6 separate regions of the Homo sapiens genome follow, and regions 2, 3, 4, 5 and 6 are each linked to region 1. Evidence: promoter capture Hi-C in 16 types of primary human blood cells and fetal thymus (Javierre and others, 2016). All regions are on one chromosome and are shown on one strand. Each heading gives the region's core, a stretch centred on a gene start or on the middle of the fragment in contact. The rest is flanking DNA. Distances are from core to core; before and after follow the strand shown. Region 1 holds the start of SKIL (SKI like proto-oncogene). Region 2 overlaps LOC105374211 (a long non-coding RNA gene). Region 3 overlaps SAMD7 (sterile alpha motif domain containing 7). Region 4 overlaps LRRC31 (leucine rich repeat containing 31). Region 5 has its middle 22 kb from the start of RPL22L1. Region 6 overlaps SEC62 (SEC62 preprotein translocation factor).

Region 1 (3,758 bases), core at 688-3,187:
TTTCTAAAAATTGTTACTTCTGGCTAGACACAGGAGCCAGGTGCTGAGAGTTGACCTGGTGCCAAGTTTCAGGACTGTCCAGTCTTCACATCAGATCTTCAGCTAGGCCTTCTGAATATTCTCACAGTTAGAAAATCTATCCCCCTAGACTCGCAGATGCTGTTTTTCCCCCACTGGCTCTGCACAGAACATCATTATCTTTGCCACGCTTCTGTCTCTATGGCAATAACAGATGGAAAGTGCTGTGGAATTATTCATGTTCAGGAAAGGAGGCAGTCAAGAAGGAAGAAAAGGTGGGGGGGCGGGGTGGAGAGGGGGCACGACCTGGGAGCTCGGCGGTGGAGGCCTAAGGAAGGGAACTTGGGTGGGGGTGCGGGGAGTGGTGGGGATTGAGAGGCTTGTGAGCCTTTCGGAGGCCTGTTGTGAGGAAAAAAAAAATAAAAAGTACGAGCACAAGAGTATTTCCAGCCGGCCGACTGCAAATGTGGGCCCCCACAGGAACAACCCGAAGCAGTAAAACTAGAAGAAATTGGACGAAAATGGGGGGGAAAAAAGGGACAAAGCTCGAGTCTCCTGAATTTTGTGCACTGCTACTCGGTGGACTATTTCAGTTCCTGATCTTGTGGTGGGGTGGAGAAAAGGGGATTTCTTGGTGTTTCGAAATGTGACGGAGCAGCTCTGCAGAGTTCAATATGCTAATCGGCTACCCTGGGAACCAGGAAGACCACCCTACACGCCTCAGAGGGTCACAGCCGGAAAGCTCTTGAGTCCTATCTTCCCTACCTCGTCTCGTCCCTCTCCAAAAAAACACACACACAAAAAAACACCCTCAGTAAACACTGTAAAAACCTTTAATTTATAGCTCCCTTCTGGAACCGAGAGAGCAGCCTGGTGGGGTGGAGGCAGGAGGCTGGGGAGTAGGGACAGAAATGTTTGCTCTCGGTTTTGCCGGAACTTTGGCCACCCCTCCCGCCCGGCCCGATGGCGGATGGAGGTCAGCCAGGGGAAGGCGTCTGGGTGGAGGCCGCCCGGGCGAGGCCGGGGCCGCCGGGGCGGGGCGGAGCGCCGGCAGCTGGCTGGGCGGCCCTCGGGCAGGAGGCCCCGCGGGGGCGAGGGGCAGCCCAGGAGGGAGGTCCCGCGGGGGCGGGGAGCAGAGCCGGCCCCGGGGGCCCTGCAGGGCGGCCGCCGCCCGGCTGCCTCCGGGGCGGGGCGGCCCAGCTGCGGCCCCGCAGGGGGAGGGTCGCCCGTGCCTGACCTCGGGCGGCGGCACTCTGCCGGGCGGGCACTGCCTCCGCCCTGCCGGCTGCTGGGGTCGCGCACAGTGCACCGCGCGGCTGCCCTGCCCCCTCTTCCCCGCTGCGCGGCGTCCGAGCGGCCAGGGCGCCCCCGCGTCTGGCCCATCACCACAGAGCGGCGGGTGGGGCGGGGGCGGGGCGGTGGCCCCAGACAGCCGGCTGGGCGACTAGAGGAAGGAAGGAGGGAGGGCGGCGGTGAGGGTGGGGTGGGGAGGGAACATCCTGTCTGCGCCGGGTGCACCGCAGACAGCGCCGCGCGCCAGCTTCCCAGACGGCGCGCGGGGCCAGAAGCGCCGGGCGCGCGCCTGGGGGGAGGGGCACGCGCGCGAGACGACGGGGCCAGGGGGGCGCTCTGAGGAGCCACAATAGGCCAGACGGCACGCGCGTCCACGAGGGGGCCGGGAGCCGCGAAGTGGCGGCGGCGGCGACGACGCCGGCGGGCCCGCGCGCGCGGCGCCGCCGCTGGCTCCGTTCCCTTCCCCTCCCCCTCCCCGCCGCCCTCGCTCTCCCCCGGGCGGCCGGAGACGGCGGCGGCGTCTGCGGGAAGCTGTGTGTCTCCGCAGTGACGTGGGCGGGCCGAGGACTCGGTGACGTCAGAGGGCTGTGTGTAGCGATGTGTGTGGGGTTCGGAGCCGCGCCGGCACAGCCGAAGGGAGCGGGCGAGCGGCGACGGCGGCGGCGGCGGGCACAGGTGCGGCTCCGGCTTACGGCGGCGACGCGGCGGAGGCGGCGGGAGGCCAGAGGCGCTCACCCTCCTAGGAGCCCGACGGCGGCGACAGGGGCGGTGGGGAATTCACAAAGCTCGTCGAGCTTACCCGGGCACCGAGGCCCGAGTAGGGGGTTTGGATGCGCGGGTCCCGGGTGGGGTCGGGGCCAGAGGGGGTCGCTAGGCGGGTGTTCCACGGCTGATCACGCTTCGTTGGCCCCAGGCGGTGGGCGCCGGCAGGGCAGGGCGCTGTAGTTGACGGGAGCCGCGGGGACCCCGGAGACCCGGACGCCCGTCACCGCCCCCCTCCCCCAGTCCAGCAGCGCTCCGCGGGGATGCCCTGGTCTCGACCCGGTCCGTCAGCCCCCGGCGGCGCAGGGATCCGCGCCCGGCGCCTAAACTGCCCTGGTGTCCTCTTCGTTCTGGCCCGGGGCTGGCGCGGGGAGGTGCAGCATTAGGGGCGCTGAGGTGACACCCGAGAACTTCCCAGGGAGAGGGTGCGCGGGGGGGTGGATTTCCACAGTCCTTCCCGCGGCCCCCGCGGGGGGGCGGTGTTGGGAGGGCACTTGGGGTTATCCCAGGCTCGCCGGTGGGGGTGGGGGGACTCCTCCCTTTACTTCCCTCCACCCCCTTGCACACCCACCCCCAGGCTTCCCGTGTCCCTTGTTCTCCCTCTCTCCGGGTTAGAGATAGGTGGGTGGCTTTGAGTGGGCGGAGGACTTCAGGGTTTTAGGGGCTCCCCCATTCTAGGTCATGCCTCTTGCTCTCTTCCTTGGCCTGTGTTGAGTAAGGTGTGTTCCTGTGGTGGACGAAAGTCTGTACGATGGTTGGTGGCATTGGTCCTTAATCCTTTGGGTCTGTTTTAAGGTAAAGTGCTGAGAGTTTGGGAAGCAAAAATTTCTATTTATTGGATTTCTTTTGGCTTTTCTCTCAAGAAGGAAGTGGAAAAAGAGTCTTTTCTTTTTCCCTCTTCCTCCATTTGCATTCTTTGTGAGGTTTGTCTGCCTTGTGCTTTTTGTCCCGGATTAGTCTTGTTGAAGGATGGAGATTCCCAGGCGTGGAGTCTATAGCTTTTGGCTTCCATTAAGTAAAATCGCTAACCTTTTTTTAAGAGAAAGTTAATTTTTGCCTGCAGTCATTCCAGAAAAATAGTGTACACGGACTAGCTGAATTAATCCACTTAAAATTGTAACTTAGTTACATATGGTAGATATGTTAACTCCTATCTGATTTTTTTGGATGAAACTGTTGTTTTGTTTTTAAATAGGAGATGAAGTAATGGATTTTTTTCCCTCCCTTAAAATGGCATAGCTGAGAAAGCCCCGGTACTACTAATTGAGATGATCTGCTTAAGAGTCTTCATATTCTGAACTCGAAAGGCCTTTTATGTTATATTATTGCTCGCTTTACGCAACTCCAAATTGCTTTCCTATTTAAATGAATGTTCTTCTAGTAAACTGGTGTTAGATTTAAAGAAATCACTCAAGCTTCACCTTGGTAAACTGAACTCAGTTTAAGATTAAGAAACTGATTTCGGCCGGGTGCGGTGGCTCACGCCTGTAATTCCAGCACTTTGGGAGGCCCGGGCGGGCGGATCACCTGAGGTCAGGAGTTCAAGACCAGCCTGACTAATATGGTGAAACCCCGTTTCTACTAAAAATACAAAAAAATTAGCCGGGTGTCGTGGCTTGTGCCTGTAGTCCCAGCTACTCCGGAGTCTGAGACAGGAAAATTGCTTGAACCCGGGAGGCGGAGGT
Region 2 (3,364 bases), core at 771-3,270, 460 kb after region 1:
AATCTCAGCTTTTTCTGTTTGGCGGATCTTCTTAGGTTCTCCTTGGTTCTGCACAGCTGATAATGTGAGAGGGGTTGCTGCTCTCCTCTTGCCGCAACCCCCACCCCAGGCCTTCTCACTCCCAAAACCTACCAAAACGTACCAAGCTGCCTCTTTGAATCTGCTGGCGTGGTAAGGGGAATGGTGTGGCGCATGTGAAAGAGATTGTCCCAAATGGGCAGAACCTTGGGACCCCAGCAAAATCCTGTGTTTAAGTTCTGGCCCAATTGCCAAAGTTCATCCCCAGTTCTTGTTTCAGACTAGCTCAGAAATTCGTCTCATTGATCCCTTTAAGGGCTTTTGTATGCGACTCTGCCACATCAAGAAAATAGCTCTACTACCACCCACTCAGAATATTTGCAGAATTTGCTTTCTTGAGATACGATCATAGCAAAAGCCATGCAGGAATCCCCACTTACCACAGAGGTCCATTTCCAGACATCTCATTGTGACCCCACTCCTCTGATGGCTGCAGACTCAGTCCCCAGAGGAGGAGCTCCTTGAGGCAGGGGTTGAAACATTTTTATAAATTATTATCCCCAGCATGTGGCACAGGGCCCAACATGTAGTAGGTGATCACAAAATTTTCTGTCAGGGAAAGCGTTAAAGTACTGAACTACTCTCCCAGTCCCCAAGCCCATTCTGATGTTAAACTCCTAATTCCCAATGTGACTGTTTTTGGAGTTCAAGCCTTTAGGGAGGTAATTAAGATTAAGTGAGGTCCTAAGGGTTGGTCTATAATCTGAAGGACTGGGGTTCTTATAGGAAGGAGAAGAGACACCAGAAATTTCTTTCCTTGCGTGCTCACAGAAAAAGGGTTATGTGAGGACACAGGAATAAAGTGGCTGTCTACAAAGAACAGGAAGAGAGGCCTTACCAGAAACCAACCTGATCACACCATGATCTTGGACTTCCAACCTCCAGAACTGTGAGAAAACACATTTCTGTTGTTTAAGCCATCCAGTCTCTGGTATTTTGTTAATGGCAGCCCTAGCAAACTAATACAGAAAGGGAAGCTCTTTAATGAGATTCCTGCAACCAGACCATGGCACAGTTCTAAATTCCAAAGAAGGAGGGAGGACAGACACTAACACGTGTTGAGAGCTGACGGATGTGGCAGCACTGAAGCAGCTGTTCCTGGAAATTCACCAGTTGTCTTCTGATCTAAAAACACTCCTGGGGAAGCTCGTGAATACCCACGGGTGAAGTGTTTTCCCCTGTACTATTCTCCCTACTAGCCATTCCCCAGTGCCTGGCTTTCAGTGATCTCTGGGTATGTGAACTCGAAACCAGCATTTCAGTAGGGAAGATGTAGTCAGGCAGAAGAACGTGCTCCTGTCTACCCAAGTGATGCTCCTAAGTGTCTCCATGAATGTCTATGAGTACCCAGGAATGAATGTTGTGTTTCTCATCCTGCATTGGATTTTACAGCCTTCATTAAATTTTGACCAACAAAATTGAGTGAGAAAAATCAGGCTTCCTGCAAGGAATGAGCTAAAACCAGTGTCGGGTTCTCACTGTGAACCTTGCATTTCCCTTTAATAACAGACATCAGACCACCTGCAAAAACATTACGTCTCACTAAGCCAGGTAAGAGTGAAACTAGAGAAAAGTAGAGGAAATGCCTTAAGTCAAAGTTTTGATTTGTAAATCTTAGAGGAGGACATGAAGCCCATGGATAAGCAATAGACTGGAAGAGTACAAAATGATACAAGAGGCAGTTTGCCTACCCCAGAGGAACAGATCCCCTGCGTAGAAAAGAATAGCACTGAGGAAGGGCTTTATGTCCTACCCATTCCTCCTCTAGCCCCCAGCCATTCTTAGAGAAGGGAGAGGTGGCAAAAAAAACTCATAAGAAAGTTTGAGATATCTAAGAATAGAAGCTTTGGGGCATGTGACTGAAGTTCAGGAGGGCAGCAGCCATTATGCAGCTTCCCCAAATGTAACTTAAAGAATGGCTGCAAAGACTATCCAGGCAGACAAGGCTGAGGTGATCTCATGGAGTTCCCTCGGAGGCTCATGGAGCAGCCAGTTATTTCCCAGAGGGGCTTAGAAGTCTAGAGAGAGAGCCGAGCCCAAAAAAGCTTAGTCTGTTCAGCCAATTCCCTTGGTGACCTAATGGGAATCAGAGCACACTAGCAAGGACAATGTCAGTGATGAAGGCTACAGGGACTTTATGCCCTCCGTGGCCTCTCTCTATTCAGTCCAGTGCCACCTGAAAGCTTCTTGGAATTTACCTGCAATGCTGGATAAAGAATTGGGGTCCTACATTAGCTGTCCCCAGAACCACCATACACAGAAATGCATACTATTCACTGCACAGGGACCCCTAGCTTAAGAAGCAGGTGTAGGCAGAAATCTAGTTTGTGTTGGCGCGGGGCTGCACCCTCCTGGAAGGGGATCTTTTTCTAATTTGCACAATGATGCCATAGGTTAGTGGCAGCTTGACTGAGCAAAACTTGATTTGACAGAGGTCCCTCTGAAGTGACTGAAAAGTTTTCACCACAAGCAGATTGAGGAACTAAGTAGAAATTAAGTTGGCGTATGAAAGAATAAAGTTAATGTCTCTTGCACATCTGAGTCTGTGGCCTGAGATTTATGACCACTATAAAGAAAAATATGAAGAAACCAACTCCTCCTCAAAAGAATGCATCTCTCTCTCTCTCTGTCTCTCTCTCTCTCTCTGCCTCTCTCTCTCTCTGGATGGCCTCACTCTCTTGCCCAGGCTGGAGTAAAGTGGCGTGATCACAGCTCACTGCAGCTTCAATCTCCTGGGTTCAAGCAATCCTCCCAACTCCCAGCTTCCCGAGTAGCTGGGACTACAGACACAGCACCACATCTGGCTAACTTTTTTTGTAGAGATGGGGTTTTGCCATGTTGCCCTGGTCTTGAATTCCTGGACTCAAGCCATCCACCTGCTTCGCCTTCCAAAGTGCTGGGATTATAGGCCTGAGCCATTGGACCCAGCTCAATTTTTATAATGATTAATATTTTGGTATATTTTCTTCCAGTCTTTTTCTGTATGCATTTTTCCATAGTTAATAACACATAGAACCTACAACTTGGTATCATGAATTTTCTGCTTAAAACTGTATCACAGGGGAAATCATGTAGACCAGGGGTCGCCAACCCCCGGGCCGAGGACTTTTACCAGTCTGTGGCCTGTTAGGAACCACACGGCACAGCAGGAGGTGAGCGGCAGGCAAGCTTCATCTGTGTTTACAGTCACTCCCGTGGCTCATATTACCACCTGAGCTCCGCCTCCTGTCAGATCAGCAGCGGCATTAGATTTTCATAGAGCAGGAGCTCTACTGTGAACTGTGCA
Region 3 (3,732 bases), core at 887-3,386, 420 kb before region 1:
AATAGAAGGGAGAGAAAGCTCAACTGTGAATATAGAAGGATTTCCAGGCAAGTTGAAGTTGAAGATCATGAAATTACGGTCCTATCAATCTGCCTAGATTTTGTATCCCTCTATCTGCCTGGAATCTTTGTCCACCAGCAGCCTTCCTGGCTTTCAGAGAAAGGAAGGCACGCCACGTCCACTACAGTTTCAGGACTAACAGACCTGCTGGAAAGGTCCGGTAGGGAAAGTTCTCAGCAGCATTTCCCTCCCCTCCCTTTACCAAGCATCTAAGGCATGGCCAGCAGATACCACATCTGTAAATGTGAGACATGAAATTTATCCATAACAGGTTTTACCCACATCCCTTTACTTACAGCATTTACTCATTCATTCATTTATCCAGCAATATTTATTGTACATCTTCTTACCATATGCCAGCCTCTGTATTAGGGGTACATTGGTCAAAAAAACACTGACCTGGCCCTCAAATAATCACTATTCCTGGTTGGAATTGAGTTCTATAAACAGAGAATTACAGTCGATTACAAAGGTTATTAAAGAGCACAAGCAATATGCTACTGAGCACAGAAAAGAGAGCAACTAAAAAAAGGTTTTACAAATTTTTTTGTCATCCTCAAGCAGTCTTAATGTTTTCTCCAAAACTAAAATATCTAGGTGGTAAAAGAACTTTTTCAAAAAAAGACATTCAGACAGAGTTAACACCTTTTGTATTTATGAAGGTATTTAAAGATCATGCAATTGATGGAGAAACTTTGCCATTACTCACAGAAGAGCATCTTCGAGGCACTATGGGATTAAAGCTAGGGCCGGCACTAAAAATTCAGTCACAGGTATGGTGATTTTATATAACTAATTATGTATTAATGGCACAAAGCTTAATACAAATATGTTACTTTTATCTTGTTGTAATATAAATAATACTTATTTAACTTCTTTATTGCTTTCCCTCTGTGGTTGAGGACATAATAGAAGTGAGGGACCCTGAAAACATTGGATGGGATGGTGGTACACATTCCTAGATATAACTGGGAAGATGATAAGCAAGGATGCACTGGTAAATGTTTAACAAGTAGTTCTCTTTGAAAAAAAATGAGCCCCAATTTGTAATATCTCCAATTTCTGTGGTGTAAATTACTCCCACCGTGGCTGAGAAACTCCTAATGTCACTGAATACTGTCATCCTCCGAGAAATCATCATCCCACTCGGGAGTGCTGCCCTCCTCGCTCCGGGCCCATGACACTTGGGGGTGACTATCCTGAAATGGGAAAAGATGCATAGCAGCACCCCACTTTAGAGTATTTCTACCAGATACAATCTCAAATATAATAGGTGTGAATAACGTCAAGAGCAGAAGTAATAATAATAGTAAAATAATTAGGTAAAAACAATTAAAAAGTGATGAGCCTTAAGCATATATTACTTTTGTTGTACATAATTTATTTAATATGATGCTTTGACTTAATTTTTAATAATGATGTATTTAACAACTGGCTTGCAAACTTCCTAAACATTGAATAATTGGCTCTTGTGAGTTAGCCAACCCCAGCACGCCACTTCTCACTACCTCCACCACTCCATCCTGGTCTCAGGCACCATCATCTCTCATTGGATGACTGTATTGGCCTTCTTTTTTTTTAATTTTAATTTTTATTTTAAGTTATGGGGTACATGTGCAGGTTTGTTGCACAGGTAAACATGTGCCATGGTGGTTTGCTGCACCTATCAACCCATCACCTAGGTATTAAGCCCAGCATGCATTAGCTATTTATCCTGATGCTCTCCCTCCCCCCATCCCAACCCCTGACAGGCCTCAGTGTGTGTTGTTCCCCTCCCTATGTCCATGTGTTCTCATTATTCAGCTCCCACTTATAAGTGAGAACATGCGGTGTTTGGTTTTCTGTTCCTGCATTAGTTTGCTGAGGATAATGGCTTCCAGCTCCATCCATGTCCCTGCAAAGGACATGATCTCGTTCCTTTTTATGGCTGCATAGTATTCCATGGTGTATATGTACCACATTTTCTTTATCCAGTCTATCACTGATGGGCATTTGGGTTGATTCCATGTCTTTGCTATTGTGAATAGTGCTGCAATGAACATATGTGTGCATTTATCTTTGTAATAGAATGATTTATATTCCTTTGGGTAAATAGCCAGTAATGGGATTGCTGGGTCAAATGGTATTTCTGGTTCTAAATCTTTCAGAAATCATGCATTGGCCTTCTAACTGCTCTCCCTGCTTCTGCCCTTGCCCACCCAGAGTTGATTCACAAAACAGTAAAAGTGGTCCTTTTAATATGTAAGATGGATTGTGTCAGTCTTCTGCTCAAGATTCTACAATAGCTCCCCATTGCCTTCAGAGCCAAAGCCAAAGACCTATGTCATTTGTGCTCCTCCTAACATGCCACCACCATTACCGTCCTGACCTCACCATCTACTTTTCTCCCCCTCAGTAATTCCACTATTGCTCAGCTGCCCCTGGTTAGAGCCACCTTGATACCCTGTTTTACATCTGTAAACACTATAATTCTGAGAGAAAGAAAAAGCCCACCACATCCTACAATTGTGACCCCCACAACTATATGTTAATAGATGCTCCATGCCTGAAATTACCTCAGCCTCTCTGTGATGTGTGTTTAATGCTGAGTTAATGAAAAAAATTCATAGAATTGATTACTATAATTATTTTGTCTTAAAAGGTATCTCAGCATGTGGGAAGTATGTTCTACAAGAAAACTCTTTCATTTCCTATAAGACAAGCATTTGATCAACCAGCAGATACATCCCCTCTTCTGGATCCTAATTCCTGGAGTGATACAATGAACATTTTTTGTCCCCAGGATACAATAATTCCTAAAGGAATTGAGCGAGGTAGTATGAGAAACTAAAAGCCCTCAAGGAGGAAGAATAGTCTTAGCCAGTTTTCCAAAGAGCCTAGGATATTACAAAGGATGTGTGAGGATTTCCCAGTACTGGATGGAGAATGAGAAGAGAAAGTCAGCCTTTCTGGGGCTTTCATGGAGGAGACTTGCCCAAGGGGCTTCCCTGCCAGGGCTGAATGACCCCAGCACCAAATGACTGGAGACGCATCCTTAGGAGCAAATGCTAATGAAGGGGAGATTTACAAACATCAAGAAAGCTGCAGATGGATGTTTCCATGAAGAAATCTCTGAAGAAACCAAAAGAGCTGAAACTGAAAAAAGAGCTCCCTCCCTTTTTTCACTCATTTTCCATTCCCAAACCCTGAAAGAGATAAAGGCAACCCAATGAAACCACAGAGAGGCAGAAGAGAACGGGCAGAAGTACAGAACAGAAATGGAGAAGCTGACCACGACTCCATCTCTTCTCATTCCAGATTTCCAGCGTGAAGCAGGCCCAAGCTAGGGAAGGTGAGAAGCTTTAACCTTAAATTTTCGAGTTTTGGCCAGGCGCGGTGGCTCACGGCTGTAATCCCAACACTTTGGGAGTCTGAGGCGGGCGGATCATGAGGTCAGGAGATTAAGACCAGCTTGGCCAACATGGTGAAACCCCGTCTCTACTAAAAATACAAAAAAAAATTAGCTAGGCCTGGTGGTGCGCGAATGTAGTCCCAGCTACTCGGGAGGCTGAAGCAGGAGAATTGCTTGAACCTGGGAAGCGGAGGCTACAGTGAGCTGAGATCGTGCCACTGCACTCCAGCCTGGGTGACAGAGCAGGACTCTGTCTCAAAAAAAAAAAAAAAAATCGAGTT
Region 4 (3,365 bases), core at 328-2,827, 490 kb before region 1:
GAGCTTACAGTGAGCTGAGATGCGTCACTGCACTCCAGCCTGGGTGACAGAGCGAGACTCCGTCTCAAAAAAAAAAAAAAAGCGATGCTGTTTCTGCAATTGTCTGGGACCACTCAGCAGACTTGGGGTTACTAGGTGGGTAGCTGAGTATGTTTTATCTGCTTATCTCAATGGAAAGGCCCTATCTTCCTCTATGCAAAGTCTGCTGCATACAGACCCATTTCTTTCATGTCCGCTGTTGTTAATCCACAGTTATTCAAATCTAGACACTTGTTGACAGCCTTTTTGCCCAGCTTCTGCAGGAAATGCTCATTTTTCTCCATACTGGATCTCCATTCCATTTCTGAACTGAGAGGCTTAGCTGTGTGATAAGCATAAAAAAGAATTTGCTGTTAATGATGGATGTATTAAAGATGCATAATGACCACAATCAGACAAGTGAAAAGACTGCATAACTCTGAATTGCTCTTTTATAAAAACCTCAACTCAGAGGCAGAGCCATTTACTAGGGACAAAGCTTAACTAACCACTGTTCCTGCCGCCAGGTGCCCAGACACTGCTTCAGGAGCCTGAGGAACGCAGTGGCTTTTCTATCATGACCTGACCTGGGCTTCTCAGCATGAAGACAGAGCTGCATTCCTGGGTGAGAAGTAAACCTGTCAGCCCGGCTTTTGAGATGCTTGCTTACTTGAAGGGCACGCATATCTTTGGTGGATGCAACTGCTAGGGAGGAAGCAGAGATACTTGCCTCCTCAAACCAAACAGGTGAAGAAGGGAAAGCGTTGAAATCACCATCAAGGAGCTGCAAATGGCCACACGGAGTAAGTGGAATTCTTGCCGGTCAGTTTCTAGACCATTCAATTGGCAAACACAAATCCAGAGAAACTAGGCCTGGGAGAGCTTTTGCTTTTTCTCAACTCCTGCCAGAAAGTGAATTTGGAAAGCCTCGTCTGTCCTCCTTGTTATTAGGGACTACTGTGGCACCCTCACTAGCTTCCTCTGTAATAACACTGTAATAACATGCTAGTGGCTGGGCACGGTGCCTCACACCTGTAATCCTAGTACTTTGGAAGGCTGAGGCGGGTGGATCATGAGGTCAGGAGATCAACACCATCCTGGCCAACATGGTGAAATGCTGTCTCTACTAAAATACAAAAAATTAGCCGGGCGTGGTGGTGCACACCTGTAGTCCCAGCTACTCAGGAGGCTGAGGCAGGGGAATATCTTGAACCCAGGAGGCAGAGATTGCAGTAAGCTGAGATTGTGCCACTTCACACCAGCCTGGCAACAGAGAGAAACTGCATCTAAAAAAAATAAATAAATAAATAAAAAAGATAGCACTATAATAATAAAAGCTATCATTTTATTGAGCACCTGTTATGTACTCGTTCTTTGCCTACTTGCAGGTGCCAGCATTTCTTTTTTCTTTCTTTTTTTTTTTGTTGGGGGGGATGGAGTCTCACTCTGTCACCCAGGTTAGAGTGCAGTGGCACAGTCTCAGCTCACTGCAACCTCCACCTCCCAGGTTCAAGCAATTCTCCTGCCTCAGCCTCCCGAGTAGCTGGGACTACAAGCGCCTGCCACCACGCCCGGCTAATTTTTGTATTTTTAGTAGAGATGAGGGGTTCGCCATGTTGGCCAGGCTGGTCTCGAACTCCTGACCTCAGGTGATCCACCTACCCGGCCTCCCAAAGTGCTGGGATTACAGGCATGAGTCACCATGGCAGGCCAGGTGCCAGCATTTAAGACATACATAAAACACATCATACTTTTCTAAGGAAAAATGAATATACATGTACTGACAGTGATTTTAAAGTGATTTTGTAAGTGAAATATACAATTTTAAACATATAGATTATGTATATTGAAATCCAATAGGAAATAATAAGTTCTGGAATGAGCAGTAATATTTTATTAACCCTGACAAAAAGGTGTAAGACAACATAGCTAAGAAGAAATACATTGGTACCTGTGAAAATTAAAAGATAGTAGGTTTGCAGTAGTAATAAATTTAGACCAAATGATTAGCAGGATAATAAAAACTACACCTGTAATCCACAGCAGTCTTGTGGCTTCCTGTTTGGTCTAAGAAAACCACACGTAGGATACGCGTCCTTGTTGGGATGCTTGGTGTTACCACATTTCACCAGTAGGAGGCAGCAGCATCCACCATTTAACCTTTCACTCTCGCCTTCCGTTTTTATGGCACATTGGACACAAGGCATTTAATTTTGGGTAGAGTTGCCAGATTTAGGAAAAACAACAACAGGGTGCCCAGTTAAATTTAAATTTTAAATCGACAAGGAATTGTTTTATTGTATGCCTCAACTGTTGCATGTATTTTCTCTGGCAACCCTAATTTTGGGTGGGGCAGAGCAGAATTGTGGATGGGAGACAGGGAGGGACTGCCTCTTAGGTGCCAGCAAGTACAGGACATTTTGTCTAAACGAGTCACAAACCATTTCATAGATTTGGAAACTTAGAGACACGATTAATTAGGAAGAAGCAGAGCCTGAATTTGAACCCAGAATAGTTTGTTCCAAAGCCTAGTGTGTGTGTGTGTGTGTGTGTGTGTGTTATTTTTGTATTTTAAAAAATTTCTCTGCATTGCATCTTATTGCTGTCTCTCTTTTGTTTTTAAGCTTTTTATCTCGACCTACAATCATCCTCAAGTTCCAGCCCCACCAAACCCACTCTTCTGTTTTCTCCTCAAGACACTGCTCTGTCAAGCATTTCCTTTACTGTCAAATGTTTGGAAAGAGTGGTTTCCACTTGCTGGCCCAACTCCTTCCCCACATTTACAAGCTAACCCTCTACCTTCTGGTTGCTACACTCCTCTATCCAAATACATTGTTTCTCAAAGGTCACCAACAATAACCTACAAACTGACAGACGCAGAAATCTCTTCTCAGTCCACATCCCACTGGGTGCTCTGTCATGTTTGATGTGACTGACAAGTAAGCAGTACAGTCAAAAGACCTGATCCAAATCACAGGTCTGTCTGAGGAACAAGTCACTCAACCTCTCTGAGCCTTGGTTTACTCATCTATGAAATGCCTGGTTCATTTCTCAAGAGCATCGTGATTTAAACTTACTGGAACCTCCTATGCACATGGTAATCTGCAGGGCCTTTTACCTGAGAGGTATTTGGTAAATATTTGTTAAATGAGCAAACAATTGAATGAATGAATATTGGTTTTACAGTTCCTCAATTACCAAAATAAATCATCATGATAAATCTTTATCAAAACACTTAAATATAAATGTGAGTACTAACTTATGAGACCCCTGGACATCTCCTCACAGATCATGTATTTCAATTTTTAAAAAATCTGTGAAACCGGCCAGGTGCAGTGGCTCATGCC
Region 5 (3,848 bases), core at 417-2,916, 490 kb after region 1:
AATCCCTTGAACCTGGGAGGCGGAGGTTGCAGTGAGCTGAGCTTGCACCACTACACTCCAGCCTAGGTGACAGAGTGAGACTGTCTCAAAAAAAAAAAAAAAAAAAAAAAAAAAAAAAAGCACTTCCTAGGTAGCAAAGTAACAACATTCTGGGATATAATGTGAAGACATTTGGGGAGTCTTCTTTCTCAGGGTTTGTTTGGCTTGAAGGAAAGAAAAAATGGCCACCTATCTTTTGGGGTCTGTGGTGACTTTCCTTTTGAGGAGGACGATGGTTTCTCCTTTAGTTCTTTCAGTTTGGACTGTAGGTTCCTTGTCTCCCTTATTCTTTCCCTGACTTCTTTGAAGACAGCAAAAATTAAGAGACTCATTTTCTTTTTTTTAACTTTCAGTTCTGGAATACATGTGCAGAACATGCAGGTTTGTTACATAGTTATACATGTGTCATAGTGGTTTGCTGCACCTATCAACCCATCACCTAGGTTTTAAGCCCCGCATGCATTAGGTATTTGTCCTAATGCTCTCCCTCTCCTTGCCTCCCACTCTCTGACAGGCCCTGGTGTGTGATGTTACCCCCCCATGTCCATGTGTAAGAGACTCTTTTAAAAAAGAAATAGATGGTTATTTCCAGTCCTACTAATGATAATGAAGTAATTTTGAAATTTTAAAAATTTCTTACAGCACTCTCGGAAATAACTTCTTGCATATTTATTTTTCTTGCTTACAAAGGTAGAAATTTATTATAGGCCCACAATCTCTTTTCCAAAAGTATTGGAGACAAATATATTTTGGAATTCCTTGCTTTTTTATTCTAAAAAGATAATACGGTACAAATATCAGGGATTATGTAACATTCCCAGTGGAATCTGGAGCAGTACCCATTACTGAAAACATTAATACATATAATGTACAGTAATACATATAAACATTCACACAAAGTAAAGACGATAAATAGCCTCACCTCTAGGTTACATTTTGCCATAAAATAGTTACAAAAATCTTAGGTTTTTAGATAGGGTTGCAAGATAAAATACAGACTGCTCAGTTAAATTTGAATTTCAGATAAACAACAAATAATTTTTATCGTTGTGGTTGCTTTTGTTTTTTGTGGTGGTGGTGGTGGTGGTGGTGTAGGAACAAGTAATTTTTTAGTATATGCCCCAAACATTGCATGAAACACACTTATACTAAAAAAAAAAAAAAAATACATATTCAGGCCAGGTGTGGTGGCTCACGCTTGTAATTCTAGGGCTTTAGGAAGCTGAGGTGGGAGGATCACTTGAGGCCAGGAGTTCAAGATGAACCTGGGAAAAATAGGGAGACCCTGTCTCTACAAAACACACACACACACATGCACACAAAATGTTTAAGTAGAATTCAAGTTTAACTGAATGTCTGTTTTTTTTAATTTATGAAATGTGCCTCTTTTAATTTGAAACTGCAAATAAAAGATTGTAGACTCGTATTTAAAAATATCCTAATTGAAATACTATTAAGAGCTACTATTCCAGGAGTTGAGTTTGATTTGGGCCTTTTTGAAGGGAAATACAGAAAACAAAGTTTTATTAAGTATGTTTATGTCCACACAGTATGTGAGATATAAAGCCTGTGCAAAGCCAAACAGATGAACAACTCAAGATATTTAAAGAGTTAGAAATAACATGGCTATTTTAGAAACAATTTATATCATGCATTTTAATAATGGTTCTTTCCTGTTTCACTGGAAAATTCATCATCTATAAAATATCCCTTTTAGAAAGTTATAAGAAGTCTCCTTAACAAAGATATAGCTCCATCTAATGGGAAAAATATCACATTACAGCCTATCATGCAGCTAGGAATTAATCCAATATTTCTATGAGTGCTAATAATAATTATATGTGTATGTAGTTTATACACACACATACACAAATACTGGATGTGTTTCTGTGCTTCTCCTTTTTTGCAGCCAGATAGGATCTAAAAGTTCCTTCAAGAGCTGCTCTTTTCCTTGGATTGAACTAATGTAAATGTATTTTTATTTTTATATTTTAGAGACGGGGTCTTGCTCTGTTGCTCAGGCTGGAGTTCAGTGGTGCAATCATGGCTCACTGCAGCCTCAAACTCCTAGGCTCAAGTGATCCTCCCACCTCAGCCCCCCATGTAGCTGGGACTAAAGCACGCACCACCATGCCAGGCTAATTTTGTATCTTTTGTAGAGACAGGGTTTCACCATGTTGTCTAGGCTGGTCTCAAACTCTTGGGCTCGAGTGATCTTCCCATCCTGACCTGCCAAAGTGTTGGGATTACAGGCATCAGCCATCATGCTCGGCTATTTTTATTTTTATAGTTCTTTCAAGAGCATCTCTTTTCCTTGGATTAGACGAATATAAATATATTTTTATTACGTATAACCACCCACACCCTAAGCTCATTCCCACCCTATTAATCTACAAAATGTAACCTTAAGAGTGTTTAATTTTCTGCCCTTGAAAATCATGGCCTCTTCAAACGTGGAAAGGACATTAGAGATTATCCAACTTGTGGTTCTCTACCCTGGCTAAGTATTAGAATCATCTGGGAAAGTTAACAAAAATACCCCTGCCTGAAACCACCAACATAAATTCTTTTTTAACTGGTCTGGGTAAGTCCTGGGCTTGGGTATTACGTAAAAGCTCTCCCAGGAGATTCTAATGTGCAGGTGATTCTAATCCCCCAGCTGACTTTAACGTGCAGCCAGGTTTAGGCCCTGGTGAATTTTAAGACAGCCAACATATTTTACGATAGAGGAAACCAAGCCCCACTGAAGAGAAGTGATTCTATAACTAGAATGTTAGAGTCTCTGACATGTAAGAAATCACAATTCTTAGAAATAGATAAGAAAACACAATCATCATAGTGTTCTTGCCCATCCTTTCTTTTATGTAAAACTTTCTTCTATGAAGATACAGCAGGAAAATGTCTATTTCAAAACTCAAACTCAATGACATCAAATCAGAGATATGAATTGTCCTCACTTCTGAGAATCTGACCTCCAGGTTCAAATTATAGTCTATTTTATCTCCATTTTTCTTTCACCCCTCTCTCCATTTCATCATCAAATCCTGTTAGTACTTTTTGTAAGCTCAATGACAGCAGAGCATGGGTCTATCTTGTTCACTGCTGCAGTCCTAGCCCTGAGCATCATGTTGGCTCATGGCAAGCACTCTATACGTATATGCAAAATTAAGCAAATGAAGTCAGGTTCTCTTGCATCCATCCACTCCTTCATCTCAAGACTAAACCCTCAATTCCTCCTGCCTGGGTAACCATTCAAGTCTCTTTGCTAATTTTCTTTGATGATTTCCTAGGGTTTCCCCCACACCAGACATCAGTCTCTTTCAACTAATATATTTTACATGTTACTTTCAGCCTTCATCATTTCATTCCCCAACATACACATCTCTGTTTCAATTTCTTCCTTACTCTCACTCCACTCTAATTTTTCAAACTTTTCCTCCAATGTTCCCCATACCCTTCCACTCATGCCATGTACTATAGCTCTATTTCCTCCTGCTCATACCTTTCTGCTTTGAAGAAGTGGAAAAAACAGGCTGTGGAATCAGACCAATTGCAAGTGGTTCCAATTCCAGCTTTGCTATTTAGTCATTCTGAGTCTCAATTACTTCATTTATAAAATGTATCAGTAGAAAATAAGATAATATATTTAAAGCACCTGGTGCTACATCTTGTGCATAGTACTGAACCAACCCTTTATAGTCTCTCTGTCAGCACCACACAATCTTGATTACTATAGCCATTTTTCACACCATTTAGAAGAGAAAAGCTTTAATTCTAGAAGTACTTAAGTAGACATTCTGCTATACTAA
Region 6 (3,644 bases), core at 854-3,353, 370 kb before region 1:
GTAGTCTCTTTAAATAAATTTTCATTGTAAATATGCTGTGGATTTAAATATGCATTATGAACCAAATAGTCTTCTGAATTATACCAGGAAACAAACCCAACATTTTATTTTGATTCTCTTAGAAAATGCAATTCCAAATATACTTTCAAATAATTAGATATTTCTTTTATATTATTCTTTGAAGTCTTTATATATATTATGTATATCGCATATAATATATATCATGTATATTATATATGAATATATATGATATATAGATATATGATATATCATAATATTATATATCATATATATCATATAATATATATCATATGATATGTCATATATATTATATGATATCTCATATTTATATGAAATATATTTTTATATATATTCATTTTTTGGAGACAGGGTCTTGCTCTGTTGCCCAGGGTAAAGTACCATGGCAGAATCATAGCTCACTGTACCCTCAAACTCCTGGGCTCAAGCAGCCCTCCCACCTTAGCCTCCTGAATAGCTGGGACTATAGGAGCATGTTGCCATGCCTAGCTAATTTTTTTTTTTAAAGTCAGGGTCTTGAAATATTATGTATTGGTCACAATTATATCTGGTGTTTCTTTGAATATGCATTATTAATAATGCCATTTAAAATAAAACCTTTGGCAGTTTTCTAAAATCTGTCGCTTTTAGCATAGGAATGTTATTATAGTACATGTCACAGCTTCCCCATAATTCTTCCCTTTTCACTCTCGGTAATCTAGTGCCACATAGCGAAAAACTGTAAAACATGAACATTTTGCCATACCATTTGTATGTGATAAGAAATTAGGTTAGTGCCATTTCTATATTGCTTTTTCTTTGGTTTGATACAAGATTTCATATTATGAATCATCTGTCTTACAATCCTGTAAAACCTATCATTGCATCATAATTGGAGAAAAAAATGTACAGCCTCCTTAAATTCATTATCTCTGTTTATCAGTGGAATTTATTCTTAAATCATAATTTTAAGCATATTTACCTTTTCCGTTTATACCACGAAAGATTCTAATGTGTACAGGAGTCTTTCAGAATATTTATATTCTTGTGAAAATAAAAATTGCTATTTTTAAAAGTCAAGACAGCTATAACGATTTTCTTCCATTTATACAAAGCAAAATAATGGAAGACACATAGATTAGCTTATTTCAGGCTTTATATGAAAACAGTGACAGAATTGTCTAAAGAAAACAAAAACCAAAACTCCTGTCATAATTGATTAGTCTGTAACATTCACATAATCATCATGACCTTTTAAAAAACAGGAAAAAATCACTCAGCTCTACATAATTGGTAAATTCAGAGAAAACTAAATATTGGGGTTTGTGATAACTCATTACTACAAATTTTAAAATTCAAATTCCATTTTTCTACAGTTTTTTCATAATACAGTGTTATAAAAGAGTAAACCTTATGTATTTAAGTGATCTTGCTTTCATTAACATTGTATTTTTCCTAATATTGAGAGGATTGGTCTTTAAGCAAAAATTACATAGTTTACCTAACTAATAAAACAAAAAGGTCAGGTTCAGTGACTCACAACTGCGATCCCAACTACTCGGGAGGCTGAGGTGAGAGGATCACATAAAGCCAGGAGTTTAAGACTGGCCTGGACAACATAGCAAGAACCTGTCTATCAAAGTAGGTAGATAGGTAGAGAGAGAGGGAGGATAGATAGAGAGAGAGAGATTAGATAAATAAATGATAGATATAGACCTGTAATCCCTGCACTTTGGGAGTTTGAGCCCAGGAGTTCAAGACCAGACTGGGCAACTTGGCAAGACCCCATCTCTACAAAAAATACAAAAATTAGCGGAGCATGGTGGCACGTACCTGCTACTTGGAGGCTGAGGTGGGAGGATTGCTTGAGCCCAGGAGGTTGAGGCTGCAGCGAGTCATGATTGTGCCACTGCACTCCAGCCTGGGTGACAGAGCAAGACCTTGTCCTCAATAAATAAATAAGAAAACAAGGATTAAAAGATGGAAACTTTCTAATACTGGGGTTCCTTATCCAGGGCTAATTTATCCTTTAGGCATAGTAAACGTGTGCCTTGGACCAAGATACATATAGGGGTCCACAGAAATATTTTCATTTTTATTTCTTTTAAATCAGAAGTAGTAATGTATATACATGTATGTAATAGCAAACCTATACAGTATTTTATTCGTGTTTATACAGATGTACAGAAAATATAGTCATAAATGTATAGAAAATATAATATTTAATAGTTTTTGTGGAGTAAGTGCCTTACAAAGGCAAAAGGGCCTAGGGCCTTGGGAAGTATGATGCAGCCCTGCTTTTCCTTCTTAAAGGCTTCCTTCCTAAACACCTTTCATCTCTTTATTTTATTCTTTTCCTACACCATGATCTTATGAATACTTAAATTCCCAACTGATTGCTATGTGTATTGAAGCATAATATCACAAAGTACATAAATCAGAAGTGTATATCCATGTAAGTGTACACCCAGATGGAAAAAAGAAGTAATTTTTTTCAGTGACATTATTGCATTGTGACCTCAAGTTCAGAGCAACATTCTGTGCCCCTAGAATACCGTGATAGCTGCTAAACTAGTCAGGAATTTTTTGTTTTCAGGCATGCAGTGGTGTAATTATAGCTCACTGCAGCCTCGAGCTCCTGGGCTCAAGTGATCCTCCCAAGTAGCTTGGATTAGAGGTTTAGCCACCACGCCCAGCACTAATCAGGATTTAAATATTAATATTTAAGGTGTATGAAATGTGCAGATAATAAAACTGTTTTCCCAGCTTTTTATTAACAAATACTCCCTTCTGAGGCAGTGTTTGAATTACTCAATTAGAGAAATTTTTCTCCCCACAGCTCGATGCATTCTATTTCTCATCATTTGGCTCATAACTGGAGGAAGGCACCACTTTTGGTTCTTGCCAAATCTGACTGCTGATGTGGGCTTCATTGACTCCTTCAGGCCTCTGTACACACATGAATACAAAGGACCAAAAGCAGACTTAAAGAAAGATGAGAAGTCTGAAACCAAAAAGCAACAGAAGTCCGACAGTGAGGAAAAGTCAGACAGTGAGAAAAAGGAAGATGAGGAGGGGAAAGTAGGACCAGGAAATCATGGAACAGAAGGCTCGGGGGGAGAACGGCATTCAGACACGGACAGTGACAGGAGGGAAGATGATCGATCCCAGCACAGTAGTGGAAATGGAAATGATTTTGAAATGATAACAAAAGAGGAACTGGAACAGCAAACAGATGGGGATTGTGAAGAGGATGAGGAAGAGGAAAATGATGGAGAAACACCTAAATCTTCACATGAAAAATCATAATCTGACTAATTTTGGGACTGAATGAATAAGTACAAGAGGTTGGATTTTCTATGTTGGCTGATTACCATATTGAACACATGGCATTTGTAGCATTCTTTAAATCTATCTACTGAAATGTATTTGACATTCAAGCAGTTATATTCGGTCCTTCATTTTATAGAATATTGGCACTATTATTGGTACAGTTTAAAGCCATTAATATGTTTTATCCATTTGATAATTTTACAGTAAGTAGGTCTCATTCATTTTGACAGTTATCAAAGATGTACTTTCCACAGTTAAATTTACATTAATGGCAATTTTTGATAGTTTTATGG

What was found. The method cuts DNA at HindIII sites, captures the fragments that hold promoters and counts their contacts. A CHiCAGO score of 5 or more calls a contact.
Region 2: a contact is called between a fragment that was not itself captured here and the fragment with the promoter of SKIL in region 1, in 4 of 17 cell types (endothelial precursors, erythroblasts, naive B cells and 1 more). The highest score is 7.8, in endothelial precursors.
Region 3: a contact is called between a fragment that was not itself captured here and the fragment with the promoter of SKIL in region 1, in 2 of 17 cell types (total B cells and neutrophils). The highest score is 8.3, in total B cells.
Region 4: a fragment that was not itself captured here is called in contact with the fragment with the promoter of SKIL in region 1 in 4 of 17 cell types (fetal thymus, neutrophils, activated CD4 T cells and 1 more); the score reaches 8.9 in fetal thymus.
Region 5: a fragment that was not itself captured here is called in contact with the fragment with the promoter of SKIL in region 1 in 2 of 17 cell types (erythroblasts and endothelial precursors); the score reaches 5.6 in erythroblasts.
Region 6: a fragment that was not itself captured here is called in contact with the fragment with the promoter of SKIL in region 1 in 1 of 17 cell types (neutrophils); the score reaches 6.1 in neutrophils.

Annotation. Positions count from the first base shown.
Region 1 is chr3:170,355,778-170,359,535 of GRCh38, forward strand. It overlaps SKIL (SKI like proto-oncogene), which reads left to right and starts at 1,938. Exons shown (of 7, transcript NM_005414.5): 1 at 1,938-1,986. RefSeq lists an enhancer at 511-610 and silencers at 891-1,790, 1,951-2,180, 2,231-2,360, 2,451-2,520. The HindIII fragment of the contact is 9,771 bases long and covers 1-3,486 here.
Region 2 is chr3:170,812,331-170,815,694 of GRCh38, forward strand. The region is part of intron 2 of LOC105374211 (a long non-coding RNA gene); the gene reads left to right. Among named protein-coding and RNA genes, the nearest start is that of RPL22L1, 56 kb to the right of the region's middle. The HindIII fragment of the contact is 201 bases long and covers 1,921-2,121 here.
Region 3 is chr3:169,935,617-169,939,348 of GRCh38, forward strand. SAMD7 (sterile alpha motif domain containing 7) reads left to right here. Exons shown (of 9, transcript NM_001304366.2): 8 at 723-833; 9 at 2,702-3,559. The coding sequence ends at 2,890. Among named protein-coding and RNA genes, the nearest start is that of SAMD7, 26 kb to the left of the region's middle. The HindIII fragment of the contact is 2,522 bases long and covers 876-3,397 here.
Region 4 is chr3:169,861,453-169,864,817 of GRCh38, forward strand. LRRC31 (leucine rich repeat containing 31) reads right to left here. Exons shown (of 9, transcript NM_024727.4): 2 at 218-361. Among named protein-coding and RNA genes, the nearest start is that of LRRC31, 6.8 kb to the right of the region's middle. The HindIII fragment of the contact is 2,125 bases long and covers 516-2,640 here.
Region 5 is chr3:170,846,715-170,850,562 of GRCh38, forward strand. No RefSeq gene overlaps it. Among named protein-coding and RNA genes, the nearest start is that of RPL22L1, 22 kb to the right of the region's middle. The HindIII fragment of the contact is 4,274 bases long and covers 1-3,803 here.
Region 6 is chr3:169,989,737-169,993,380 of GRCh38, forward strand. SEC62 (SEC62 preprotein translocation factor) reads left to right here. Exons shown (of 8, transcript NM_003262.4): 8 at 2,858-3,644. The coding sequence ends at 3,327. Among named protein-coding and RNA genes, the nearest start is that of SEC62, 25 kb to the left of the region's middle. The HindIII fragment of the contact is 6,807 bases long and covers 1-3,644 here.